2 separate regions of the Homo sapiens genome follow, and region 1 is linked to region 2. The links are contacts of gene promoters, found by promoter capture Hi-C in human tissues and cell types (Jung and others, 2019). All regions are on one chromosome and are shown on one strand. Each heading gives the region's core, a stretch centred on a gene start or on the middle of the fragment in contact. The rest is flanking DNA. Distances are from core to core; before and after follow the strand shown. Region 1 overlaps GUCY1A2 (guanylate cyclase 1 soluble subunit alpha 2). Region 2 holds the start of GUCY1A2 (guanylate cyclase 1 soluble subunit alpha 2).

The links. Contacts are between HindIII fragments. The study calls those that stand out against the background at their distance.
Region 1: a contact is called between a fragment that was not itself captured here and the fragment with the promoter of GUCY1A2 in region 2, in 1 of the 25 tissues and cell types used here (H1 embryonic stem cells).

Annotation. Positions count from the first base shown.
Region 1 is chr11:106,703,759-106,709,890 of GRCh38, forward strand. GUCY1A2 (guanylate cyclase 1 soluble subunit alpha 2) reads right to left here. Exons shown (of 8, transcript NM_000855.3): 7 at 4,754-4,908. Among named protein-coding and RNA genes, the nearest start is that of GUCY1A2, 310 kb to the right of the region's middle. The HindIII fragment of the contact is 7,782 bases long and covers 1-6,132 here.
Region 2 is chr11:107,016,023-107,021,676 of GRCh38, forward strand. It overlaps GUCY1A2 (guanylate cyclase 1 soluble subunit alpha 2), which reads right to left and starts at 2,454. Exons shown (of 8, transcript NM_000855.3): 1 at 1,731-2,454. The coding sequence starts at 2,033. RefSeq lists a silencer at 1,848-1,977. The HindIII fragment of the contact is 5,267 bases long and covers 1-4,322 here.

The sequences.
Region 1 (6,132 bases), core at 1,779-4,278, 310 kb before region 2:
ATATATGATTACTTACTAATTAGATTAATTATATACTATATATACGATTACATACATATATATGATTACTTATTAAGTAATGATTACTTAGTAATCATATGTATATAGATATACATATATGATTCCCACATTTAAGCAGAGGTACATAATTCAATTAATCATGTGATTAATTGAATTAATTATGTACCTTAGCTTAAATTTGGGAATTTCCCATGTACACAGCCAATTTTTAATCATATGACTATGATTTAGACAGTCATCAGTAAGGGACTTTTGTTAATAAAAACACATAGGAATAAACTGATTACTATCTCAGCTCTTAGTCACAGCTCAAAATGCACCTTTGACCAAATTACCAAACCCATTCTTTCTCTCAAATTTCCAGATGAGGTCTGTAATCCTACTAGCACACATCATTCATCATGGCTAAATTTATAAATTATGAGATTCAAGTGAAGGAATAAGATGGTTTCTTCCTCCATGGAAAGAACAGGATGAAGCAGTAAATGAATGTCTAATATGTTCCAAGTATAAGGAGCTTTAAAAATATCACATTAAATGCCAACAATAATCTTCATAAACATGTACCCATTTTAGAGATGAGATAACTTGGTCCAAAGAAATTAAGTCACTAAAGTTCATGTAGACAGGAAAATTTAGAGCCTGGATTCTACCTTAGGCATTTTGATTCTGAGCTCATGCACTTCACCACTGCCTAATCTGCTCGACTGTACATGCTCTCATACAATGAGCTGTTCAGGTAGCAGTGGTTAGGAAGAAGCTTGGTTTTAACAGAAAGAAGCCTTTCACAGTCAATTAAAAATAGGCGTTCTAAAACATCTGGAAGTAGATCAATTGTAAAATGAGAAAAGCAAAAATGTTTAAAGATTAAGAAAAATTTCATACCAAAGTAATTCAAGTCTTTCTACACTTTTAGTTTGCACTGTAGCAAGAAAAAATAATTATGCTGAGATAAATCATTTATTTCAAAATTTGCTAAAGCCATCCTTCATATAAGCAATTATTTCTGTTTTATAGATCAGCAGCATGATGTTAAGACAGTTGTTTATAATATATGCATTATTTTAAAATATATATTATATGCAGTAAAGTAATATTAGTATATATGATATATATATTATATGCACTATTTAAAGTGCATATATTAATGGTGCATATATTATGTGCACTATTTAAAATCCATATCCCATAAAAAACTTATCCCATCATTGGGATGATGGGAACAAAAATGTGTGTAAACACATTTATTGAAGAAAAATGAAAATGTCTAATTTGGAAAACTTAAAACTCAATAAAAATTTCTTTTTTGTAATGTCATGTAAATAATGTTCACAGGAACAAACTTTGTGATAATTAAAAAATAGAAAATATACCGAAGTGTTGATCAACAGAGGAATATATGTATGAAATATTAAAATATGGTGGAGTCATACACTGAAATGTCATACAGCGATTAAAATGATGAGCTAGAGCTGTCTATGATTTAGACAGTCATCAGTAAGGGACTTTTGTTAATAAAAACACATAGGAATAAACTGATTACTATCTCAGCTTTTAGTTACAGCTCAAAATGCACCTTCGACCAAATTACCAAACCCATTCTTTCTTTGGAATTTCCAAAGAAAGATGCTCCAACATGGATAGATCTTAAAAGTATTAAATTGTGTTTAAAAGAAACCAAAGTTAGTGATAACAGTCATACAGTAAAATACCATTTATGAAAATTAAAACATGTAAAATAAAATTATATTGTTCATGGATACATATGTAGAAAGTTAATATATAGAACATGGGACTGAGGCAGGGCGCAGTGGCTCAGGCTTATAATCCCAGCACTTTGGGAGGCCGAGGAGGGCAGATCACGAGGTCAGGAGATGGAGACCATCCTGGCTAAAAAGATGAAACCCCGTCTCTACTAAAAATACAAAAAATTAGCCAGGTGTGGTGGCACGCACCTGTAGTCCCAGCTACTTGGGAGGCTAAGGCAGGAGAATCCCTTGAACCCGGGAGGCGGAGGTTGCAGTGAGCGGAGATTGTGCCACTGCACTCCATCCTGGGCGACAGAGTAAGACTCGTCTCAAAAAAAAGAAGGAAAAACAAAACACGGGCCTTTGAAACACACCAAACTCATTAGGATGTCACAATGAAAGACTGAGAAAATTACAAAGAAAATGTTTTGTTCATTTTTATTAAGAAATATCTGAAGCAAAATATAAAGTGTTTAACTATGGTAGGATCATGGATATTTTATTATCTTTTCAGTACTCCACAATAGTTACAAAAATATTTTTAAAATTCAATTATTTGAATATTTAAGACAAAATGCATTTGGAATGAACAATTCAAAAAATGATTTCAGTTTATCATAATATCAAAACAGTCCACTTCCAAAGTTTATAATAATCATATAGTTTTCAAGATAAACAGGTAATGTTGGACATTCTACAGAATGTAATTCAGGGATAAAATAGAGATTTCAAACTCTCATGAGCTTAATACTGGGTTTTACTTCATAAATTATATTTGTTCTAAGAATCTACCCACCTGTCAGCTCAACGTGTCTATCTATGGCTCTGTTTGATTTTGGGGGGCCTGGGGGTGAAGGTGCAGAACAATAACACAACAGTAAGCTTCAGTGTATGCAGTAGTTGAAATGATTTCATTCCTCAGACCTTGTTAATCACTAAGGATCATCATAAACTGTGAAAAAGACTACAAAAACTCTGAGTCACCACCAAAATGCACAGACTTGTATGGCTGGCAGAGTTTTTTTTTTTTTTAATACATCACTATGTAAACAAAGCCAGCTACTGTTATGATGTCTAAGCAACAGGGCATGAACTCCTCACACAGGTTGGGCCCATTCTTTTACACATCTTTTTTTTTTTTTTTTAAGTGAAGTTGTCACAGAAGACATAAATCTACACTAAGTTACACAAACATGGAAAATAAGTATCAATACCATGATGGGAATAAATGGAACCATGTAATAGGATATGAGTGAGGTAGCTGATCTTCAGTAACTTTTTTCATCGTATAGAGCAGAAAGTATCAGAATCACTGATCTCTACTAGAGAATTTGACAAAATTCAATTTGCCATGGTAATTGTTGTCAGATCATCTGTAATATGCCCAGAATTGTGTTGGGAAAATTGGGAGAAGTTTAAAAGATGCAAATCCTCTTATAAATATCCTGAAAATAGCATATAGTTCTTAGATAAGTAATGATTAGATAGAATCCTGAAACTTTGTCCAGAAGTTGTCTGTGAGGCCCTCAAAATCTCTTGGGTTCCTTAAAATTAGTAAGAGGTGTGTCTTTATTCAAAAACTGTAAAATCAAGGTATCCACTACTTTAATGAGCTTAGCAAGAGCTTTAAAATGTATTTTTAATGTGCACTTTCTCTTAATTTTATATTTGTAATTTCAGTTTTCTTTCTCATCTATTTTGCAGAATCTGGAAGTATCTGCTTTCATCTAAAAACTTTAAATTCCCTCTCTGGAATTTCTGATACCAAATTACCCTCTAATTTGGTATCAAAAGTTTGAAAATATCACTATTTTATTTATTATTATAGTCAACTTTTATCTTTATATTCAAATTTTCTGCTTGAGTTTTTTGTAACCATGTTAATAGAAAAATCAATGGCCACTATTCCTACTATACATTTTTTTCAGTATGATTCTAAGTTACCTAAAACATGAAATTAATTAAGCAGCTGTACAGTAATGCCCAGAATAAAGCCAAAGTGTGATAAAGTAAGACATTTTCATGCTTTTCTTTGCTGTTAATTTTGAAAATGTCCATCTTATCAATGTATTTATTCATTAATTTGATAAATATTTACAGAGTGCTTATTATGGGCTAGACATTTTTATAAGTTTGGGGATATAATGATGAGCCAAACTCATCATTATGACTGTGAGAGACACAGTCGCTGCCCATATACAGGGCTTAATATCTAATAGGGGAAATTTCTACCAGACACAAAATAAGAATGAATTCAGGAGGCAAAAATGTGTAGTGTTGTCAAAGATTACCTTTAAGATAAAAAGAATTTAATGTTTTACTCTGTACCTGGTATAGCAGAGCATTCAAAATCCCAAAGTCCAAAATGCTCCAAAATCTGAAACTTTTTGAGAACCAACACGATACTGAAAGGAAATGCTCTTTGGAAGATATTGGATTTCAGATTTTCAAATTTGGGATGCTCACCAGGTAATATGCACAAATATTCCAAAACTCAAAAAATTTCAAACCGTAAAACACTTGTGGTCCCAAGCATTTTGAGTAAGGTATAATTTATATATATATAAATTTAAAGACTTTATTTATTTATTCAAAAAAACAGTCCAACCACCTTTTCTATTGTATTTCTTCCATTTTTATAAACAGAAACATTTTGAAAATATTGAGATTTCTATTATAATGCAGATCCTTAAGAACATTTGCTCTCCTGTATTTTAAACAGGTATACTTAAGAAGGACAGAGACTGTGGGAAATGACAAACCTATATTCACCTCTCAGTCATGTCAGATTTTTCATGCACTCTCACAGAGTGCAAATAAAAGTTTGTGTCACAATTACTATCTATCTTTTGGGTTTGGGCAGTTCTACTCATAATATCTTGGAGAATGACAGGATCAAGAAAAAGAACAGGGACTCACAGATGACAGCATAGCAGCCCAAAACAAAGGCCAAGACAGGAAGGAGGAGGCCAGAGAACACTTACTGGTAAGTGGTTGGGCTGACATTGATGCGCCGAGGGTGACTTCCCGACTCGAATTTGCTTGCCAGTGTGACATTATTTCCAAACAGGCAATAACGTGGCATTCGCACCCCAACAACTCCAGCCAGCACGGAGCCTGAGTGAATTCCTATCCTCATCTAAAGAAGAATGAAAGAGGAAAAGGAACATATTTGTTTCCATTTGGTATGCAATTATTTTAATGAAAGGCACTGCTAATTAATAATAATAATAATAAAAAAAAACTATGAGCTCCTCAAAGACAGGAACTGAGTCCTGGTCATTTTTGTGAGCCTAATAGCTGGATCATTATAGGGCTCAAAGAAGATAAATGCTATTGAATACACAAATAAATAGATTAAGTATATGAAAAAATTTATGTTTAATTTGCTACATAAATCTGGTTATGTTACAGGTTAAATCAGATTTCATCTGTATGTAATATGGTCTAACTTGAAAAGTATATTTTTCTCCACTTTCTCCCTCCAGTTATTCTTAAATAAAACCTTATTTGTTCCTTTCATAGCACTAAACATAATTATAAATTAAATATTTATATTTCTGTTTATTTTGTTTAAATGTTGGATTTTCCCATCAGAGAAGGATATAGTTATATATATTATATACATGTATATAATATATATAACTATATATTATATATAACTATATATAATATACATGTATATTATATATAGTTATTAATAATTGTATACTATATTGTATATAATATATATAAATATATTTATATATATAAATTTATATATATTTATATTTTTATATTTATATATATTTATATATATTATATAAATATATATAAATTTATATATTTTATATAATATATATAAATTATATATATTATATATTATATAAATTATATATTATACTATGTATATATTATATATAAGTATATATAATAATATATATTCTATATTTATAGAATAATATATATTATTATATATTTATATATATATAATAATATATATTATTCTATAAATATAATAATAATATAATATATTATATTATTATATAAATATGTTATATACGTGTATATAATATATAGTTATATATAATATATAGTTATATATTATATACGTGTATATATTATATACACGTATAGAATATATAGTTATATACACGTATAGAATATATAGTTATATATTATATACACGTATAGAATATATAGTTATATACACGTATAGAATATATAGTTATATACACGTATAGAATATATAGTTATATACACGTATAGAATATATAGTTATATATTATATACACGTATAGAATATATAGTTATATATTATATACACGTATAGAATATATAGTTATATATTATATACACGTATAGAATATATAGTTATATATTA
Region 2 (5,654 bases), core at 1,204-3,703:
TCTTCAATCAGGTCTCGTAAAAGAAAAAAATCATTCTCCATTAATACAAGTGCCACAAGAATATTTGTAGACCTGTCTGGTACCCGTACTCAGTCCCCTCAGGGTTCCACTCCTTCTTAGGTCCCCCCTACCATCATTTGCAGTAGTAATCTCAAAAGAGAGACTCAACAGTAATCAAACAAGATCAGTGTTCAGATTCATTTCGGAAACTTTAAAAAAGTAAAAGTCCTAGGGGTGGGCAGGTGAAAGTGCTGTCAGGAGGAGCTAAAGCTCTTGTATCCAAGGTCAGGGTGAGCATAAAAGATGGGTGGAGGTTTGACGCTGAATCTTTTTCAAATTCTGTCTGCAACAGAGTGGATTTCTTTAAAACAGAGCTCTCCCAGACACGGTAAGATTGGATCAGAGGTCTGGCATTCCTGCAAGAGGTAAAAGCCAAGGGTAGCTGAAATGCCTGGGCAGGAATAAGGCAGTACTCCTCTGGAAGGATGCCTACAACCAGGGGGAGTTTGTTGTACACCTGAAACTGCTGATACAGACATCCCAAGATGACCACAAGTTTGGAGAGGCATTTATTCATTCCACAAATATTTAGGAAGGGCCTAATATAAAGAAGCCACCAAAAAATGAGAGAGAAAGCACTAGAGAATCAATTGAAGAGAGAGTAAAGGATGAGGTGCAGGTGCAAGAAGTACAGAGCGGTTTAAATAGCTAATGTGAGAGAGAAAGCACTAGAGAATCCATTGAGGAGAGAGTAAAGGATGAGGTACAGGTGCAAGAAGTACAGAGAGGTTTAAATAGCTAATGTGAGAGAGAAAGCACTAGAGAATCCATTGAGGAGAGAGTAAAGGATGAGGTACAGGTGCAAGAAGTACAGAGCGGTTTAAATAGCTAATGCATGCGAAGCTTAATACCTAGGTGATGAGTTAGTAGGTGCAGCAAACCACCATGGCACACGTTTGGTACCTATGTAACAAATCTGCACATCCTGCACATGTAACCCGGGACTTTAAATTAAATTTAATTTAAAAAAAAAGAAATCCAGACACCAGGTTTACCCAGAGAAGAATAAATGCCTAGTGGATAAGAAAGAAAAAGAAAAAAAGCTACGGGGTGAGGACAACTCGAGATTAGAGATTACTTGAACAGAAGGCAACTCAGAAAAGTATCTGGCAAAAAGTATCTGAAGATGTGAGAAAAAGGATGCAACATAGAATGCAGATAGCCTGTGGAATTCAAAGATGTCAGAGAAGGTCACGCTAAGACCAAGAGAGTGTGGGAAATAAGGAGAGGAAGGGTTTCCTGGAAGGGGTTGGGGCTCCTTTGGGATGCTGGAGAACAGGATGAAAGACAGGGAAGCTGAACTGCAGAACACAGTGCCTGGGAAAGTTTAGGGGAAAGAAAACAGGTGGGTGTGAAGCAGCACTGGGGCTGTCCAGGGGGAACAGTGGTGAAGTAGGGTTCAAGGCTAGAGGTGGGCAGACAGGCCCCCGAATCAGGATACCCCAAAGGAGTGGAATCTTATTCCTTCCCAGTGCTGTAGTCCCCTCTTCCGCCCTAGCCTAGGGGATCCTCTGTCGCCGGAGCCACTGGAACCCTAGGCCGTGCAGGGTAAGGCCGGGCCGCCCCCCAGCGGTCGGGCTCTGCGCTCGCGCCCCGGCTCGCCCAGCGCCAACTTTACAGATCCGCGTTCTCTCCCCCGAAGGCGGTCCCCCCTTCCGCCCCCCGCTCACCGAGGGCGCCGTCAGGCGGCTGATGCTCTCGCCCAGCGAGTCCAGGTTGACCCGCCTCCGGCGCTGCACCCTCCTGGCCCCGGCAGTGGCAGCGGCGGCGGCGGCAGAAGCAGCCGGGGTCGGGGCCGGGGCGGCGGCAGCGGCAGCTGCGGCCGGGCTGGGCTCCAGCGGCCCGGGCGGGCTCCGGCTGCCATTCCAGCAGAGCCTAGACAGGGGGCACTCCCCCTCCTCCTCCGGGCTGGTCTCCAGGTAGTCGGAGCCCAGGGAGCTGAAGGACTCGGACGAAATCTTCCTTCGAGACATGCTGCCGGCGGAGCTGCAGCGGCCGAGGCGGTGGCGGCGAGGACGCGAGCGGCGGCGGAGGCGGCGGTGGCGGGACCGGCAAGCGACAACGTTAAGCGCGTCGGGGCCGCGGGGCGCTGCGGTCGCGCCCGGCGGGGCGGGAGTCCCCGGGGCCGCGGAGCCCCCCGAGCCGGCTGCTCATGGCGGGAACTTGGGGCGCCGCCGCACCTTGGGGCCCGGGCTCGGCGGCGGCGCCGGGCTGGGCTGGGGGCCGCCGCCGCCTCTGCTGCTGCTCGCGCGGCGCCGCCTCAGCGCCCGCCTCGGCGCATCGCCGTGCGCCGCGCTCCCGCTCACGGGGAGGCTCCGAGAGTGTGTGACCGCGGTCGGCGGGGCGGGGAGGGCTGCGGCCCAAGCAGAAGGGGAGGCAGAGGCAGAGGCTTCTGCCGCCTGCGCGCCTATCTCGCCCCCTTTCCCTCTCTGCTCCCGCCTCTCTCCACTTGCTGCCCTGCCTCCCTCCTTCTCCCTTTATCCCCCCGCCCCCCCCCATGCTCTCCCTCCGCGGGAATCACGTGTCGCCATCATACTCATTGGGAGTCTCTGCCTCGCCTGTCGCCACGTTTCAGGAGCAACGAGGACACTTCGTTGCTGTCCTCTGCGCGCCCTCCCTGCTCCGAGGAGGTGCGCACAGGAGCTCGGGTCGGACTGAGGGCCCCAACCCCAAACGCCTTATCCTCGGCCCTCGGGAGCAGATGGGTCCCGGCGGCGCTGGTGGGGAGAAGGGCTCGGGGCTGGGGGGCGAGAGGCCTCCCCCTGGAGCCACCTTGGGGAAACCTGACAGTGTGAAGTGGGGGTTAGGGTCCATGTTGTCCTTTCTCCGAGTTTATTTAGGAAGTTCCGAGGCAAAAGGGAAAGGCCAAGCGTCCAGCCAGCCCACTCCAGAGGAGACGCTTTCAGGGGAAGGGAAGGACAGGGGCAACATTTTGGCGCCCATCCTGCTGGAGCAGCTCCTGGGGACTTGTGTTCCCCGCCTCGTGCGAGGCCGTGTGGGCGCGGAGCGAGCCCAGAAAGGGGCGGCAGTGAGGACAGCGTCTGCTCTGACAAGACAGCACTGTTGCTGAGCCTCAGCCGGGCGGGGTGCGCGGGGCTCCCGGCTCCGCTGGCTCCTCACTAGTGCTGGACAGCTCCGCTTGCCACCTATAGCCGCCTTTGCAGGCGTTGAGAACTGGAGAACAGTTCCTCCTCAAACGACCTAGCACCTGGCCCGGGGGAAACCGGGGAATGATCCCACGTCCCTCATCCTCAGGGCTCTTTGCGCCAAATATGCGATCTGTTTGCACCTGACTGCAAATGCTGCTCAGAAAGCTAAGGGGAGTAGGGATAAATGCTTCTCGAACTGACTCGCCACAGCGCGAGCATGTCTTGCCGCGAGTTTTCAGCTGTGCGGCTTCATTCCAAAGCTTATCTCTTTGCAAACCAGTCCTTCCAGCGCCTGACCCCACTGCCCCTTGCCTTAGCCCCAGAAAACTCTCATACTGGTTCTGAGGATAGAGTAAGAGATGGGAAGAAGGGGCAAATGACAGTATCCCGAAAGGGGTTCCAGGCTGTACTTCCCCCTGCAATGAAGTGGATGAGCACCCTCCCCAGCTCACCCGATCTGCGGAGAGAAAAGTTTAGGGGCTCTGGCTTTAGTTTCCCAGTGAAACCGAAGCCAAAGCGTTTTTTTAATTAAAGAACTGGTCCTTCCAGGTGAAGGCAGATGGGTTTTTGTGGACTGTGTTTATTTAAAAAGCAAAACAAAACCAAACCACAAAACCTGTGCTGTACCCCCACCACAATTTGCTTTTAACTTCAAATCTTCCCAAGTGTTTGTTAGGGCTTAAATATAAATGCTATTTGAGGTTTCATTTGGAAAAATCCACTCAAACTGGTTCAGAGACATACCTTTTTCCCCAGATCTTAAATGGGCTTTAAAGATAGAAAAGTGTGTACTATCACTCAGACACTCCCCCTTCAAATTATATATATATATATATATATATATATATGTGTGTGTATATATATGTATATGTATATACATATACATATGAGAAAGAATATATATAATATATATTCTTATATATATGTATTCTTTCTCATCCTGAGGAAGTTTCTTTTAAAATAATAATTGTTACAATTATTATTTAAACTGTTGTGCATCTACTATTGATTTCCCCATTACTTCAATTAATTCTATGTGCATTTGTGTCCATTGAAAATTAGACTCAAATTACACTTTTAATCATAAAAAATCATCAGTTTTGCTAAAAAAGTTTCACTAGCCCCTTTTTCTAAATTATAATGAAAATTACATTATTCTAACTTTGGGGTAATTGTTTAATATTTCTGCTACACAGTATCAATCAGCATAAAGGATTGGAGTTCCTAGTTCTCTTCTTTGGTACTGATTATATAATAGTCAAGTTCTTTCGAATTATAGGATTTTAGTTAGTATTAAATATACTAAATAGCATGTGTCCTTCACATTCTTTCAATAAACTGCTGCGCACACAAATAAATATTATGGTAACGGCAAATAAACTTCATATTGAACTTAGAATTGGAACTTTTTATTAACCATTCCAACTCTTGTCTCAAAGTCAAAATTATTGAGTGCAAGGCAATGAGTATCATTTGTTTCTAAAATTTGTAAGAGGCCCAAGAGCCTTCCTGTTTACACTGGAAGTTTATTGCCAGAAAGAACTCTGAACCTATGGGACATTTTTTCTTTGTGTGAACCATTTGAATCAAAGACTCTTTACAGAATCTAGCCAGATGAAGTCGTCTTACAATTTTCTCTATGAATTACACCCTGCCTTTGATCATTATTTTCCCATGGATTTTTAAACTATAAACAAATCAAGGCCTAGATATAGCCAGTACAACATCTGCTTTGCTTTCAAGGGTTTCCTTTGTATTTCTGTTCAGGAGCGGGGTTCAAAAGCTCTCAATATGAAGAGTGCTGTGTTTATACTAGAATTGACATTTTTAAAATGAAGCATAGCTATTCTCCATTAAAAAAAAAGAAGAAGAAGAAGGCTTACAGTTAGCAAAAGCAATCTAAATACTTTAGGAAGAGTAGTCTGCTGAGAATGAATAGTCTGTGCTCTGATTTTAGGAAAAGAAGCTTGCCCAAGCTCATACCCACAAATCCAGCCCTGCTGGATATATTGTATTTCAATAAAGTATTTAAAGGCCACTCTCCAACTGGAAAAGAAAAATGCAGAAATATTCTTGGTTTATTTGTGAAGTTGGCGTAGGCACCTGACAACTCAGATTGATCAAGCATTGGGAAAGACTTCCTAAAAAAACAGATTCTTCACTTTAGTCAAGACGATGACTATTTTACATTGAAACATAAAGTAACTATTGTTTGTGCGTGCCTTCCCTTCACATAAATCAATCCTATTTATAAACCCTTTCACTTATATAGCCTCATTTAACCTGATTTTCATCCTTCTCAGAGAAGTTGTTGAAGAAAAGTCACGTGTGTCAAATTCAAATCAAAACCACAATCAGTCCTCCTTCCCAAAATTCTTTGCGTTTCCCAGGTTCAAACTCTTTACTAGTTTCTTTTCATCTAACACTCCAGCAAGAAAATCTGCA